2 separate regions of the Homo sapiens genome follow, and region 2 is linked to region 1. The links are contacts of gene promoters, found by promoter capture Hi-C in human tissues and cell types (Jung and others, 2019). All regions are on one chromosome and are shown on one strand. The core of a region is centred on a gene start or on the middle of the fragment in contact, and the rest is flanking DNA. Distances in the headings are between cores, read along the strand shown.

Region 1 (7,118 bases), core at 1,112-3,611:
TTAGCTGGATATGGTGGTATGTAGTCCCAGCTTCTTGGGAGGCTGAGGTGGGAGGATGGCTTGAGCCCAGGAGTTTTAGGTCACAGTGAGCTATGATCTTGCTGCTGCACTCCAGTCTGGATGACAGAGTGAGACCTTGTCTCTTAAAAAAAAGAAAAAAGAAAAAAAAAGGAAAAGAATCAGTACGGTTTTGGTCAGGCTGAAGACTCTGTGCTCTCTATATGTAAAGACAGTATAATTAAATAACCAGAAAAAGGCTTCTAGGGTATGAAAGCACAAACTGAAGCTAAAAATATCAAAAGGTAAGTGAACCAGATTTTCAATGCCATTGGGAAAAATCAGACCTAACACTTCTATGGATTTTATGCATAATTAGGGAATTCTTAAAAAAAAAAAAAAAAAAAGAGGGACCTATTTGCAAGTCACACTCTTCATCCATCGATGTTTATAGAATGACAAGGTTCTGAGCACCTACTATGTGTCATAGTGTGCTAGGTCTTTGGGCTCCAAAGGTAAAACAAACATGTTCCTGAACCTCAAAGAGCTCACAAACTAGTGAGAGAGAAAGAAACACAACAAATAATTAAAATAAGGTGAATCAAGTGCTGAAAGAATAAAGTACAAACTCTGTCCAGAAACAGTAATTAGGGAGGCCTTGTGGAGGTGACTGTAAAGCAGAATCTGGAATGATTTGAAGGATGAGGAGAAATTTGCCAGATAGGGCATCAAAAAACACTGCAAGCAAAGTGGACAGAGTATGCAAAAACCTGGAGGTGTGAAACACTAGTAGGTGCCTGAAGAACAGCAAGTTTTAAATGGCTGCACACAGGAACAAAAGGGGGAGTAACAGGAGAGAATGGAAGTTTTGTTGCAAAAGTATCCAATTACACAAATACAGCAAAAGTCCCCGACTACTGCCTTAATCTCACTCTGCTTCCTAATGACATACACTATTATTCTGTAGTCAATTCTTTCAGACCTTTTACTTTGCATATATAAACACACATATTTTAAAATCCCTCCTCCAGCTTCATACTGATCTCATTCTGTATGAATTGTCCTGCAACTTGCTTCAACCATTTACCAATACGTATTGAAGACTTTTCCAAAGCAGATTTTAAAGTTTATGAACAATTTTTTTTCCTCCTAAAGAAAAGATCATTCTGGCATTGGAGGAATGACTGGCTTGGAGAGGAGCTAGACAGGAGGCAGGAGATCAGTCAGAGGGGATCAGCGAACAGTCCAGGCATAAGTCGCCTTGCCTGAGGTCTAAGGCACTCGCTATGGGAATAGACAGGAGGGGATGAACTGAGAAATATATATGAGACACATTCTGAAATACCTGAGTTGGTCAGGATCTGGGATGAAGGAGGGAAGAACCAGTGTTTGTGTCTGGTGTGACTTGGTGGATGATGCATGTGTGTTGGAAGGTGGGATGGACTGGGGACGGGAATGCGTGTTTGGAGCTAATGAATTTCATCTTTAGGAACTGTCTAGTTTGAGATGCCTGTGCAAGCAGGCAACTTGCACCACTTCCCTCTTTCCTACGTAGGGCCAGAAGGCCATGGTGTCAACAGTTCAGAGAATTCATTAATTTAAGGCCTGATGTGTGTAAGATTACTCAGAAAGACGGCAGAGGGGAGGAGCTAGTGTGTAGGAACAGAAAACATAGGGGCTTTGTGGCAGAGTTTTGTATACTGTATTTTTACGAGCTTCAGTATTTTCATTAGCAAACAAGCCCTAATACTACGCAAGTTCTAAGATTCCCACGTGGTCCGTGTACCATGTACGCAATAAACAGTAGTAATGCATTTTGTCAACCAAGTGTTCTGGGTGCACAGAGAGGGAGTGAAGGAGGGTGCGGGCGGATGGAAAGTTGGTATCAGAGAGGAAACCCGAGGCATTATCAGAGCAGGAGTCGTCAAGTTGGGTTTTGAATGACTCGAGCGTGCCAAGCACTGCAGGGTCTTCCAAATGGAGAACTAAGAATGTGCCAAGGTTGGAGGGGGCACGCCATCCTGAAACTAAATCATCAGGCGCGAGAGTGGGAAGATCAGGGAAAGGCAGGCAGAGGCCACCAGCTGGGTTCCCGGAGGGGTGGGGCCGGGGCCGGGGCCAGCAGGGCGCGCCGCCTACCTCCGGGGCCACGCCACTGCCCTCGCTGTAGTTCTCGGAGATGAGCTGATCGAAGAGCAGGTGGATCTCGGTGCGGGCGGAGCTGCTGTCATCCGGGCGCAGGGCGCAGAGCCTGGCAGACAAGAGGCGAAACCCATTGCCTCGCTCAGGGATTGCTTCCCGCGGTGCCTCCCGCGGCTGCACGGAAGGCCACGAACCGACAACTTGCACAGCAGCCATCTTTTCTACGGGCGGGGGGGGTGGGTGGGGTGATCCCAGGGAAATACTTCCGGGACATCCTCCCGTTCCGCGCGCTCTAGTTCCGAAAGTACCTTTTTTAGACCGGACTGGGGCTCAGAGGGGTTTCCATGACTACGGGACTCCTCCGACCGGTACCCTGCAGATGCTTGTCAGAAATTGGCTTGGAGGCCGGGCTCGGTGGCTGACGCCTGTAATCCCAGCACTTTGGGAGGCCGAGGCGGGCGGATCACGAGGTCAGAAGATCGAGACCATCCTAGCTAACACGGTGAAACCCCGTCTCTACTAAAAATACAAAAAAAAAAAAAAAAAAAAAATTAGCCGGGAGTGGTGGCGGGCGCCTGTTGTCCCAGCTACTCGGGAGGCTGAGGCAGGAGAATGGCGTGAACCCGGGAGGCAGGGCTTGCAATGAGCCAAGATCGCGCCACTGCACTCCAGCCTGGGCGACAGAGCGAGACTCCGTCTCAGAAAAAAAAAAAAAGAAAGAAATTGGCTTGGAGATTTTTCGCCGGCCACTCCTTCTTGAGCCCTGACTGAAAAGTGAGTTCTCAATTTGTGCTTCCAGAAAGTTTGTCCTCCCAGAGTTTGTTCCTGGACAGGGCTGAAGGTACTCTGTTCCGTACTAGAGTTTCAGATTCGGGCTGGAGTTGGAGAGGGTATGCTGTGGATGGCAGTAGCAGAAACCGCTAGTTCTAAGGCACCCTTCTACTCTTCTAAAATCTTTCCCCAGGCACAAAACCACCCGGAATAAAGGCTACGTTCCCTAGCATTCCTTGCAGTTGGCTGTGGCTCTGTGATTGCAATCTGGTCAGTGGAATATAAGGCAGCTTTCCCTACTTAAGTGACAGCTGGCTGTACTCTTGGTTCCTTTTTCTCCCTTTTTCCCAGTGTGAATCCTCTCATGGATCATGAGGCACCTCGCCCCACTAGAAGAGTAATTTTGGAGTTTAACTGAATCATGTAAAATATAATCTGCCTAAGAGTGACCGGGTTGAAATGAGACACCCCAAGATTTTCTGAAACCTTGAAGTCAAGAAGCTGGAGAATAAAATGGCCATTTAAAAATCTGTGATCACTTTTCAGTCATCCAGGAAGTGAAGGCTTGACTTTCACAGTTGGGCAGATTGGGAAAACCATCTCTAGGGCCTTTGAGTTATGCAAATATAAAGCAAATCCTCACCCTTGGCCCTTAGGGAAAACCTTGAAGTCACCTGAATGTATGTTTTATCCTGAGAACAAAACATTTCTGTTCAGCAGTGAAAATTGGGGGTATGCTTTAGCAGAGGTAGTTTTCTGAAGACTTTGGGCTTGGGGAGAAATGTTAATTTTTTTGTTTGGATTTAGATTCCGTTGTGCTGGTATATTATTTCTTATTCCTAGTCTGTGTACATATGTGCGTTATATATGTGCATGTGTGTGTGTGTATTCGTGTAAAGAAATGTATTCAAGCATTTGTTCAGAGAAGATCAGGAGCTGAAACCTAGTCGTTGGATATTTTAATCTGGGTTCCCTGATAGCAGAGCCTCAGATGAGGTTGATAGGTGAGGGATTTATCCAGAAATGAACAGGGAAGGAAGGAGAATTAATACCAATATGTGCTATTGAGTTGGCCATTGCAAGGGGTGACTGATTGTTCAGTCCTCAGGAGTTTCTGAGAAGCCTTGTGAAGCTCTCAAAACCCTTCTTCTGAGGAACAGAGAGGAAAAGCATTTATCTGTCAGCTTTTGAAGTCTATTGTCAAAAGTTGACCACAAGGCATTAATTCACTGGTGTTCCTGTGTTGAGCATGCATCTGTGCTTGGTTCCTGGAGGAGTCCTATGTTGCATAGTCAAAGAAGCCCTGAGGCAAAAGTGAGGAAACTAGGTGCATATCTGAGGCAAGGCTCTCACCAGTTATACCTGTGCTAAGCTAGTAGATGCCTGTGATAAACTAGTTGCTGTAGCAATGGCTAGAGTAAGAATGTAAGACCAAGAGTATGTGAAGTAGTACTAAAGAGCTGTCTTACACATTGGGCTAGAAGGATGTGAGGCCTGGTCATTTCCACAATGCACGTTCGAAGAGACTGGAAAGGATCTGGGTTTGGTGTGGTTCACTTTAAGTTGCAATATGGATGACCTACATATTGTGTTATTCAGGGTGGAATGGCCCAGGAATTGTAAAATACAGTATACTGATGCCGGTCTGTTCAGTTCTGGTAGAATATACTGTTTTGGATCAGTGTGGTTCCTTTAAGGAAATGGACATCCCTACTCTGCAGTGATCACCAACTGAAGGAAACGTATCTCAAGCTCTGAGGGAGGCCTTTGAAGGCACCCTGCATTGGCTTGAGTTTAGACAGTAGCACTCCTGCTCCCACCTCCCACCCTGAAACTGTGGAAACACAGCATGGCAAAAGCTCTCTTCCAAGAAAATCTTCTGTCTCCTCCTCAATTCTCTGCATTTTCATAGTCCTGCAGTGACTGAGGGGCTTTAAGGGGTGCTAAGCACGTTCACAGCCATTTCCTTTGTTAGATTCTGCATCGGATGATCTGGAACCTCAGTGGAATTTCACTCCTTTCATGTGTGGAAACCTCTCAAGACTTCACTTTTATCCCTTCATGAGCGTCTGGGTCATCCTAACTCACGTAGGCTTGCATACCCCCACTTCACTCTAATTCACATCTTTGATTATTTCCTTCGGAAAATTTACCATAACCTGCAGTTATCTTGTTTATTTGATGACTTTATCATCTGTTTTCCCCTCTAGAATATTAACTTTATGAAGGCACAGTTCCCGTTTGTCTCATTCGCTGTTGTATCCCAGGGCTAGCACAGCCCCTGGGATGTGGTAGATGCCCCACAATATTTGTTAACAGAATGAATGAATTCACTAATTTTTTATTCAGGGTCCCCTATTTGCCACCGGTTGATGTGAAAATCGAATGGGATTTTTGTGAAAATGCTTTGTAAACTATAAAGTTTTATAAGTCTTAGTATCAAATGAGGTAGATATTATTTCCCCCTTTTATAGTTGGGAAAATGGTGCCGAAGAGTATAAATGGTTGGTCAAGGCTGCACAGGCAGCAAATTGGTTGAAATCAGATTGCAGCCCAGGCTGGCTGTGATTGTGAAGAACATAGACAAGAAATTATAAACCCATTGTTTTTTACCTCCCACATTTTGTAATGGGGAAAACCAGAAGACAGGAGCTTGATTTCGGTATCCAGATTACACTTTGAACCAGGAGAGGCTAGGAAGGAGGATTGGCCTTGAGTTCTGTTTCAGGGTCATCAGCCTATCTATGTGATTACATAGGAGTCCCCCCTTATCAGTAGTTTCACTTTCAGCCTTTTCAATTACCCGTGGTCAATCACAGTATGAAAATATGAAATGCGCTGGGCGCAGTGTCTCATGCCTGTAATCCCAGCACTTTGGGAGTCCGAGACGGGCTGCTCACTGGAGGTCAGGAACTCGACACCAGCTGACCAACATGGTGAAACTCCATCTCTACTAAAAATACAAAAATTAGCCGGACGTGTTGGCACACGCCTGTAATCCCAGCTACTTGGGAGGCTGAGGCAGGAGAATCACTTGAACCTGGGAGGCAGAGATTGCAGTGAGCCGAGATCACACCATTGCACTCCAGCCTGGGTGACCAAAGTAAAACTCCGTCCAAAAAAAAAAGAAAAAAAAAACGAAATGGAAATTTCCAGAAATAAACAATTCATACATTTCAACTTGCTGCTGTTCTGAGTAGCGTGATGAAATCTTGCGCCATCCCACTTCATTCTGCCTGGAATGTGAATCATCCCTTAGTCAAGCATATCCACGCTTTATATGCTACCCACCCGTTAGTCACTTAATAACCATCTCAGTTATGAGATCCACTGTCCCAGTGCTTGTGTTCAAGTAACCTTTATTTTGCTTAGTGGTCTCAAAGCATAAGAGTAGTGATGCTGGCATATTGTTATATTTGTTCTATTTTATTATTAGTTATTGTTAATCTCTTACTGTGCCTAATTTATAAATTTACTTTATCATAAGGATGTATTTATAGGACAGAACACATATATAGAGAGTTTGATACTATCCACGGCAGTATATGTAGAGTTTGATACGATCCACGGTTTTGTGCATTCACTGGGGGTCTTGAAACATATCCCCCGTGGATTAGGGGTACTACTGTGTTAATAATCATTGTAGTTAACACTTACTGAATGCTTTCTATGTGTCAGCACTTTATGTGACCCTCTTTAATCTTTGTAGTTTCATGAGGTACTATTATATATATGAGTCGAATCACAGAAAGATGAAGACTCTCACTGAAGGCCACATGGCTGTGTGGTGTGCCTGGGTTTGAAATTCAGAGTCAGGGCTCCTGACCACCATGCTATAATGCATAGGACTTATATGGCGTTCGACATGAGATTATAGTTTAGGCCCTGACACTTACCTGCTATATGACTCTGCCCCAAACCTCAGTGTCCTCAAATGGTAATGATAAGAAGTGCAGTCAAAAGGTTGTTAAGGTTACTTAGATAATGCCTGGGGAGAATTTAACATGGTCCTTGTTGATAGTCAGTACGCAACAAATGTCATCTGTCCTCCTCCCCCTCCTCCTCACCTTTAACCAAATAACTCAAATAGTATGAGTGCTTTTAACAATGATGATTTATTAAAAGAAACAACCCCTCTTCCCTGCCTCCCATATCCCCTGTAGTCTCCATCCACAGGCTTGCTGTTTTCATCCATCTTCCTAGTCAAG
Region 2 (7,118 bases), core at 2,108-4,607, 2.0 Mb after region 1:
ATCTTCCAATTCTTCACCTCTTTACAATCAATTTAGTATCTTTTATTTTTATTACCTTTTATTTCAAAAATCCCTACCTTCTGATGGTTGTAACACTTGTTCTACATAAGAAACCACTACCAACATATTTCTCCTAAGTTTTAAAGCATCAAAGACCCAAGACACAGTTACCATTTGTAAGTATCAAGGTTGTACAGTTGTTATAAACTTCAAATAAATTAGTCATTTAAAACTAGAAAATGACTTTGTCTCCTTCGCAAAAATAGTAAATAAAAAAATCTGCTTTCTGGGAGGCTGAAGCCAGGTGTGGTGGCTCACGCCTGCTATCCGGGAGGCTGAGGCCAGGTGTGGTGGCTCATGCCTGTAATCCCAGCACTTCAGGAGGCCAAGGCAAGTGGACCACTTGAGGCCAGGAGTTCGAGACCAGCCTGGCCAACATGGCAAAACCCCATTTCTACTAAAAATATAAAAATTAGCCATGCATGGCACGGCTGTAGTCCCAGCTACTCAGGAGGCTGAGGCATGAGAATCACCTGAGCCCAAGAGATGGGAGTTGCAGTGAGCTGAGATCACACCACTGCACTCCACTGTGGGCGACATAGCGAGACTCTGACTCAAAAAAACAAAAAAAAAAACCTTTGCAATAGTAAAAGCTAAAGCACAATTTATAAATTTTCACATGAAATTCTGAAAATTTTATGGTTTTATTTTGTAAAATCTATTTTAGTTAAACTTGCAGTCAAATGATTTAAGAATATTTAATGTGAGGCCATGTGCGGTGGCTCATGCCTATAATCCCAGCACTTTGGGAGGTCGAGGCAGGTGGATCATCTGAGGTCAGGAGTTCAAGACCAGCCTGGCCAACATAGTGAAACCCCATCTCTACTAAAAATACAAAACTTAGCTGGGCGAGATGGCATGCACCTGTAGTCCCAGCTATCCGGGAGGCTGAGGCAGGAGAATCACTTGAACTGGGTGGCAGAGGCTGCAGTAAACCGAGATCACGCCACTGCACTCCAGCCTGGTGACAGAGCAAGACTCCATCTCAAAAAAAAAAAGAATATTGAATGTGGTTTAGAAAAGTAATCAGTATTAATCTTGAAGCATTTCTCCCTCATTATTCTAATGCTTTCAGAGGGGGTGGGCATCTTATGTCCCCAGTGCCCACAATTCTCATTAACACTAAATAGGAGCTATGCATAAAACAAACAAGTAGAGACCACCTGTTGAGGTTTTCTAAATCCAACGTATCTCTGAAGTATGTCCTCATCTATATGGCAAGCAACTAAGCAACCATTACACTAAAGTAATATAATTTCATATTTTGTTGCTGAGAAAAACGAGAGTAAGTCCTAATAACGCTCAATAAAGTCTGAAGGTTTTTGGTTTTGTTGGGAATCACTTAGAAACAAGAAGCCTACTGAGCCAAGTTTCTAATATCCTGACAATCTAATAACTGTAATAAAAGTACTTTCTACACGTTGTATTCAGATACGAAAAGTGAAATGGTACAACCAACCCACTCAAGGCATAGTGATATGCACTATTTACACTAATTGAAACAAGTTCTTGAATCTCAACACCAGCATTATAATAGGGAGGGGAAGGAGAAGGGAACATATGGCAAATCTTTACCTATCTCTTTTGAACTTAACCAGAGCCTAATAGAAAAAGTCTGCTTAATCTATATAACTATTTTCCTCCTCTAGCCAGGTGCAATGACTCATGCCTGTAATCCCAGCTACTTGGGAAGCTAAGACAGAAGGATCACTTGAAGCTAGGAGTTCAAGACTAGCCTGGCAATACAGGAAGACCCTGACTCCAAAAAACTTTTTTTAGTTAGTAGGGCATAGTGGCAATGCCTGTAGGCCCAGCTGCTGGGGAAGCTGAGGTGGGAGGATTGCTTGAGTCCAGGAGTCGGAGGCTGCAGTGAGCTATGATTAAGCACTGCAGGCTGAGTGAGACAAAGTGTGACCTCCATCCCTACAAAAAAAAGAAAAAAAAATTCCTTCTCTTGTAGCTCTATGTCCAGAGAAAATAAAGTTCAACTCTGCATTCTTAGTACTTTTCTGTTACTATTAGCATTACAGTTCTTAATCATCAGTGTTTCTTGAAATTTTTATGGACTATTTATTGGAAGAAAACACAAATGCTAAATTTGATTACCATATTTTTTTCCTGAAGATGCAGATTACAGTAGTGCCAAAGTATGTGATAAGTCATCAAAATAATTCTCTATCAATGGGGAAAAAAAATCACAACCAAAAAAGCAGACACACCCTGCACTCAACATTTTTCTCAAAAAAATGGCATCTTTAAATATCTCCACGGTGGTAAAAAATGAATCTTCTCCAATACAATTTTGCAAAACTATTAAAATGTAACATATGCTAATGAATAATGGCTCAAAAATTAACATGGTAGAAAATACCATGTATTTCCTGAAATAAAGAGAAATGTTTAAATGCTAGATCAGTGTTTCTCCTGAATAATCATTAATAACCTATACATTCAACAAATATACCGAGAGCCTTAAGTTGGCCGCATCATTATCTATGGCAAAACTTGAAAACTGATTTAAAAACAGCCTAGTATGTTATGTTTGGCTTGAAAACTTAGAAGATACACTTGATCAAAAAAACAGTATGCAGAAGAAATACAGCAAATGAAGTTGTCACCTAGGAGACTAGCCAATTTAAAGAGTCGGGCCACATCACAAGTAAATTTTACAATAGTAGAAATAAATTACTCTCTTTAGACTATGTGGGGCACACAACAATGTTTTAGTTTGGCTGGGACTAGATTCCTATGCCTGGCTGTTTATCTATCTGTCAATCCTATTAACAGCTGTCATTTAAGGTTAAAGTCCACTACAGTTAATATCCTTCAATTAAAACATCCAAAATTAAATTCAGAACAATAGTCCACTTAGTTTGAGCACTATTCATTATGATAAAATTCTGGTATAATAAAACTATCTGAACATGTTACTAAAATCTACTTTACAGACCTCAGGAGCCAGGAAAAAGAACAAATATTTTTAGCCCTGAGTTTTTTTAGTTCACAAGGTATCAGTTTTCTCAAAGAGTCTCATCACAGTCTAACTTGCTATGATTTTTTTAAGATGACAAATGGGAGAGGACGCAGTGTTTGCTTTTATTTTTATTTAAAGGGAAAGAATAAAAGCCAATGATGACAGCAATTGAATTCCAAAAATGTTAGAACACAGAATAAAAATACACAGAAAACTCTCCTTCAAGACCACATTAATGAAAATGATACAATCTTGCTCTGAAGCAAATTAACAGTACACTTAAAAGTACCAGTCCTACCCACCACAGAGATTCTTGACCAGAGGGACTGAGCTAAGATTTTCCCATCACCCATTTTATACCTCTTTCACCCACTATCACACAACCACTAAACAAAGCTACAAAATACAATTTTTAAAAAAAAGGGGCCAGGCATGGTGGCTCATGCCTGTAATCCCAGCACTTGGGGAGGCTGAGGCGGGCAGATCACCTGAGGCCAGGAGTTCCAGACCAGCCTGGCCAACATGGCGAAACTCCTATTAAAATCTCTACCAAAAATACAAAAATTAGCCAGGCGTGATGACACATGCCTGTAGTCCCAACTACTCGGGAGGCTGAGGCAGAAGGATCGCTTGAACCTGGGAGGCGGAGGTCGCAGTGAGCCAAGATCGCCCCACTACACTCCAGCCTGGGAGACAGAGCGAGACTTCATCTCAAAAAAAAAAAAAAAAAAAAAAGAAAGAAAGAAAGAAAAAAGCTGTAACCCCAAAGGAGTTTTATTCCCTAATCCTTTTTGTATCAAAACATATCGACCCCGATTCAACTAATCATTATCCTATAGAGGATAAAGCAAAAAGTAAGAAAATCATCTATGTTTGGCTTTGGAATTCAAGAGATTTTTTGAACAAATAACCTTCTGGAATGTTATAGTTTGGCTAATACTAGTTAGCACAAATCCTGATCCAAAAATCATCCAGCCTTTGCAAATTACTTTGCTCAACGGTATTGACTTACTGCTACAAAATGAGTAACTGAGGGTTTAAAGTATGTATTAAATCAGACGTGATTTGCTGTAACTGATCTTTGCCAGTTAGCAATAAAATAAGTTTACATTCTATTTCTACACATCAGCTAAACTTGAAAGGAAGGTAACCCAAACAAATGCTAAGTGACATAAGAGAAAATGAAATTTAAAATGCACTATGGAATCTGAACAGATTCTTCAGAACTGTCGAAATCATCAAAACCAAAGAAAGTCTGAGAAACTGTCACAGTCTAACAAAGCCTAAGGAGACATGACAATTAAATGTAATAGGGGTATCTTAAATGAGATCCTAGAAAAGAAAAACATATTAGGCAAAAAAATAAAGGAAATCCAAATATATACTTTAGTTAATAATAAAGTATCAATATTGGTTCATTAGTTAATTTTTAAAAATACACTGCATGACACAAAGGAGCTAAGGGGGTTAAACAAAGGCAATTCTGTATTTCTGTTACTGAATATTCCAGTTAAGAAAAACTGAGAATTCTAATCTTTGAAAAAAGAAATGCTTTCCCTCTTCCCTCACTACCAAGAAAAACAAGGGCAATATTATCACCATAATAAAAAACACTTCAGTAACAAGATGTGGTGTGTGCTGAACCAAACAGAAGGACACTGCCTGTGAAGAGCAGGCTCAAGCTAAATTAACCAGCTTTTTAGTTACCACCTGGGTCCTTCCGGTACCCCATTCCTCAGTGCTACACCTCCACTTGGAACTCAGGACTGCCTCCAGCAGCTGATGCTACCCTGTACTGTCCAGCTGCTCTCTTCTCAGGGGAGCTTAGAAGAAGGAAATAGAGTGCCACAGATGGAAGAAATGAAAAAGGGGTTAGCTAGAGAGACAGAGGCAGACTAATTACCCCAAGAGGGAGGTAGACGCTGTCCCTAGAGCAAAGAAAAGGGCAAGACAAATATATTCCATCTGAAAAAACCTTATTATGCTTTAAGATACGTCTGATTTAAGTAACAACATTCTTAAGTAAATAACAGGTTTTATTTTTAAGAAAAGCTAAAATATTATATAAATAACACTGACTATGCAAACTAAAACAGTACAGGACAAGCTTTGGAACAATAAATATGATCATATACCACTCCTAATTGTATTTCAGTTTATTATTTCAATCACTTCACTTTGATAAATTTTTAAGTTATTTACGGCCAGGTGCAGTGACTCACGCCTGTAATCCTAGCACTTTGGGAGGCCGAGGCGGGTGGACTGTCTGCGCTCAGGAGTTCGAGACCAGCCTGGCGAACACGGTGAAACCCCATCTCTACTAAAAATACAAAAAATTAGCCGAGTGTGGCAGCATGTGCCTGTAATCCCAGCTACTCGGGAGGCTGAGACAGGAGAATCGCTTGAACCCAGGAGGTGGAGGTTGCAGTGAGCTGAGATTGCGCCACTGCACTCCAGCCTGGGCGACAAAGCAAGACTCCATCTCAAAAAAAAAGCTATTTACCATTCATTAGCATTCAGTAAAGTCTGACAGCAGTTAAAACCCTACCTCCTGCCTGTAATCCCAGCAGTTTGGGAGGCCAAGGCTGGCGGATCACAAGCTCAGGAGATCGAGACCATCCTGTCTAACAGTGAAACCCCGTCTCTATTAAAAATACAAAAAATTAGCCGGGCGTGGTGGTGGGCGCCTGTAGTCCCAGGTACTCAGGAGGCTGAGGTAGTAGGAGTATGGCATGAACCCAGGAGGCAGAGCTTGCAGCAAGCAAGCTCCACTGCACTCAGAGAGCGAGATCACGCCACTGCACTCCAGCCCGCGGGACAGAATGAGACTCCGTCTCAAAAAAAAAAAAAAAACCAACCTCCCAAAATTATTTTCATTCACGTTCAAGATCACTATCTATTTTTTTTTTTGAGACAGAGTCTCACTCTGTCGCCCAGGCTGGAGTGCAGTGGCAAGATCTCGGCTCACTGCAACCTCCGCCTCCTGGGATCAAGCAATTCTCCTGCCTCAGCCTACTGAGTAGCTGGAACTACAGGTGCGTGCCACCATGCCCAGCTAATTTTTGTGTCTTCAGTAGAGATGGGGTTTCACCATGTTGGCCAGGATGGTCTCTATCTCCTGACCCTGCGATCTGCCTGCCTCAGCCTCCCAAAAGTGCTGGGATTACAGGCGTGAGTGAGCCATGGCACCCAGCTGATCACTATTTTAAAGGTACAAGTAACTACCATTTTTGAAAATTACGCTAAAAATCAAAGCTAGAGAAAAATGTTTAAGACTGTAACCTAGTTTCAGTGGAGAAAACATATCTGACTGGTAACATGAAACCTAGAAGACAAAACTGACTTTTAACAATATCCATCAAAGCAGCTCACATCTAACTTTAATAGTCTTTTAACTTTCACAATATTTTTTCTATTACGGTAAAACTAGGCCAGGTGCAGGGGCTCACACTTGTAATCCCAGCACTTTGGGAGGTTAAGATGGAAGGATCACTAGAGTTCAGGAGTTCAAGACCAGCCTGGTCAACACAGCAAGACCCCATCTCTACTTAAAAAGAAAAAAAGAAAAAAAAAATTAAACATTATGTATCTCTTAAAATTATCTTTGATTCTACAAAGTGTATTTCATGGAATCTTAAAAAAAGATCTGTTTAGTCTGTTTAGATGCTCTGCCAACTTTATTAAGAAGACCAAAGCCCCTAAGTCACCATTATAGTTTTATCAATAATTATGTTTTATCAACAAATATATTTTATCAATAGTTTATAGTTTTTCAACAATGTTATACAGTCTCCAAACATTCTAGTAAGGTGATTTTTATGACCACTTAACGATTAAAATAACTCAAATACTATATCCAAAACAATGAAAGAAAAAGGAGGCTGGCGGACTTAGCTTTTGGCATAATTAGAAAGTATTGTCTCGCTAAAACTACCATATATACATACATCATGTATATGTACATATATGTATATACATATACACATCACTTTACACATTTAGAACTACATTAAATACACACAACTAAGGACTGGACTCTGCAGCAGGCATCTTATTAGAAAAACTACAAAAGCTGGAAAGCTTT

Evidence for each region. Contacts are between HindIII fragments. The study calls those that stand out against the background at their distance.
Region 2: a contact is called between a fragment that was not itself captured here and the fragment with the promoter of HEATR6 in region 1, in 1 of the 25 tissues and cell types used here (hippocampus).

What each region holds. Positions count from the first base shown.
Region 1 is chr17:60,076,560-60,083,677 of GRCh38, forward strand. HEATR6 (HEAT repeat containing 6) reads right to left here and starts at 2,362. Exons shown (of 20, transcript NM_022070.5): 1 at 2,137-2,362. The coding sequence starts at 2,355. It overlaps HEATR6-DT (HEATR6 divergent transcript), which reads left to right and starts at 2,750. Exons shown (of 2, transcript NR_135648.1): 1 at 2,750-2,913. It also overlaps the pseudogene WFDC21P. RefSeq lists a silencer at 2,019-2,148. The HindIII fragment of the contact is 14,340 bases long and covers 1-7,118 here.
Region 2 is chr17:62,054,774-62,061,891 of GRCh38, forward strand. All of the region lies in intron 2 of MED13 (mediator complex subunit 13), which reads right to left. Among named protein-coding and RNA genes, the nearest start is that of MED13, 6.9 kb to the right of the region's middle. The HindIII fragment of the contact is 7,913 bases long and covers 1-7,118 here.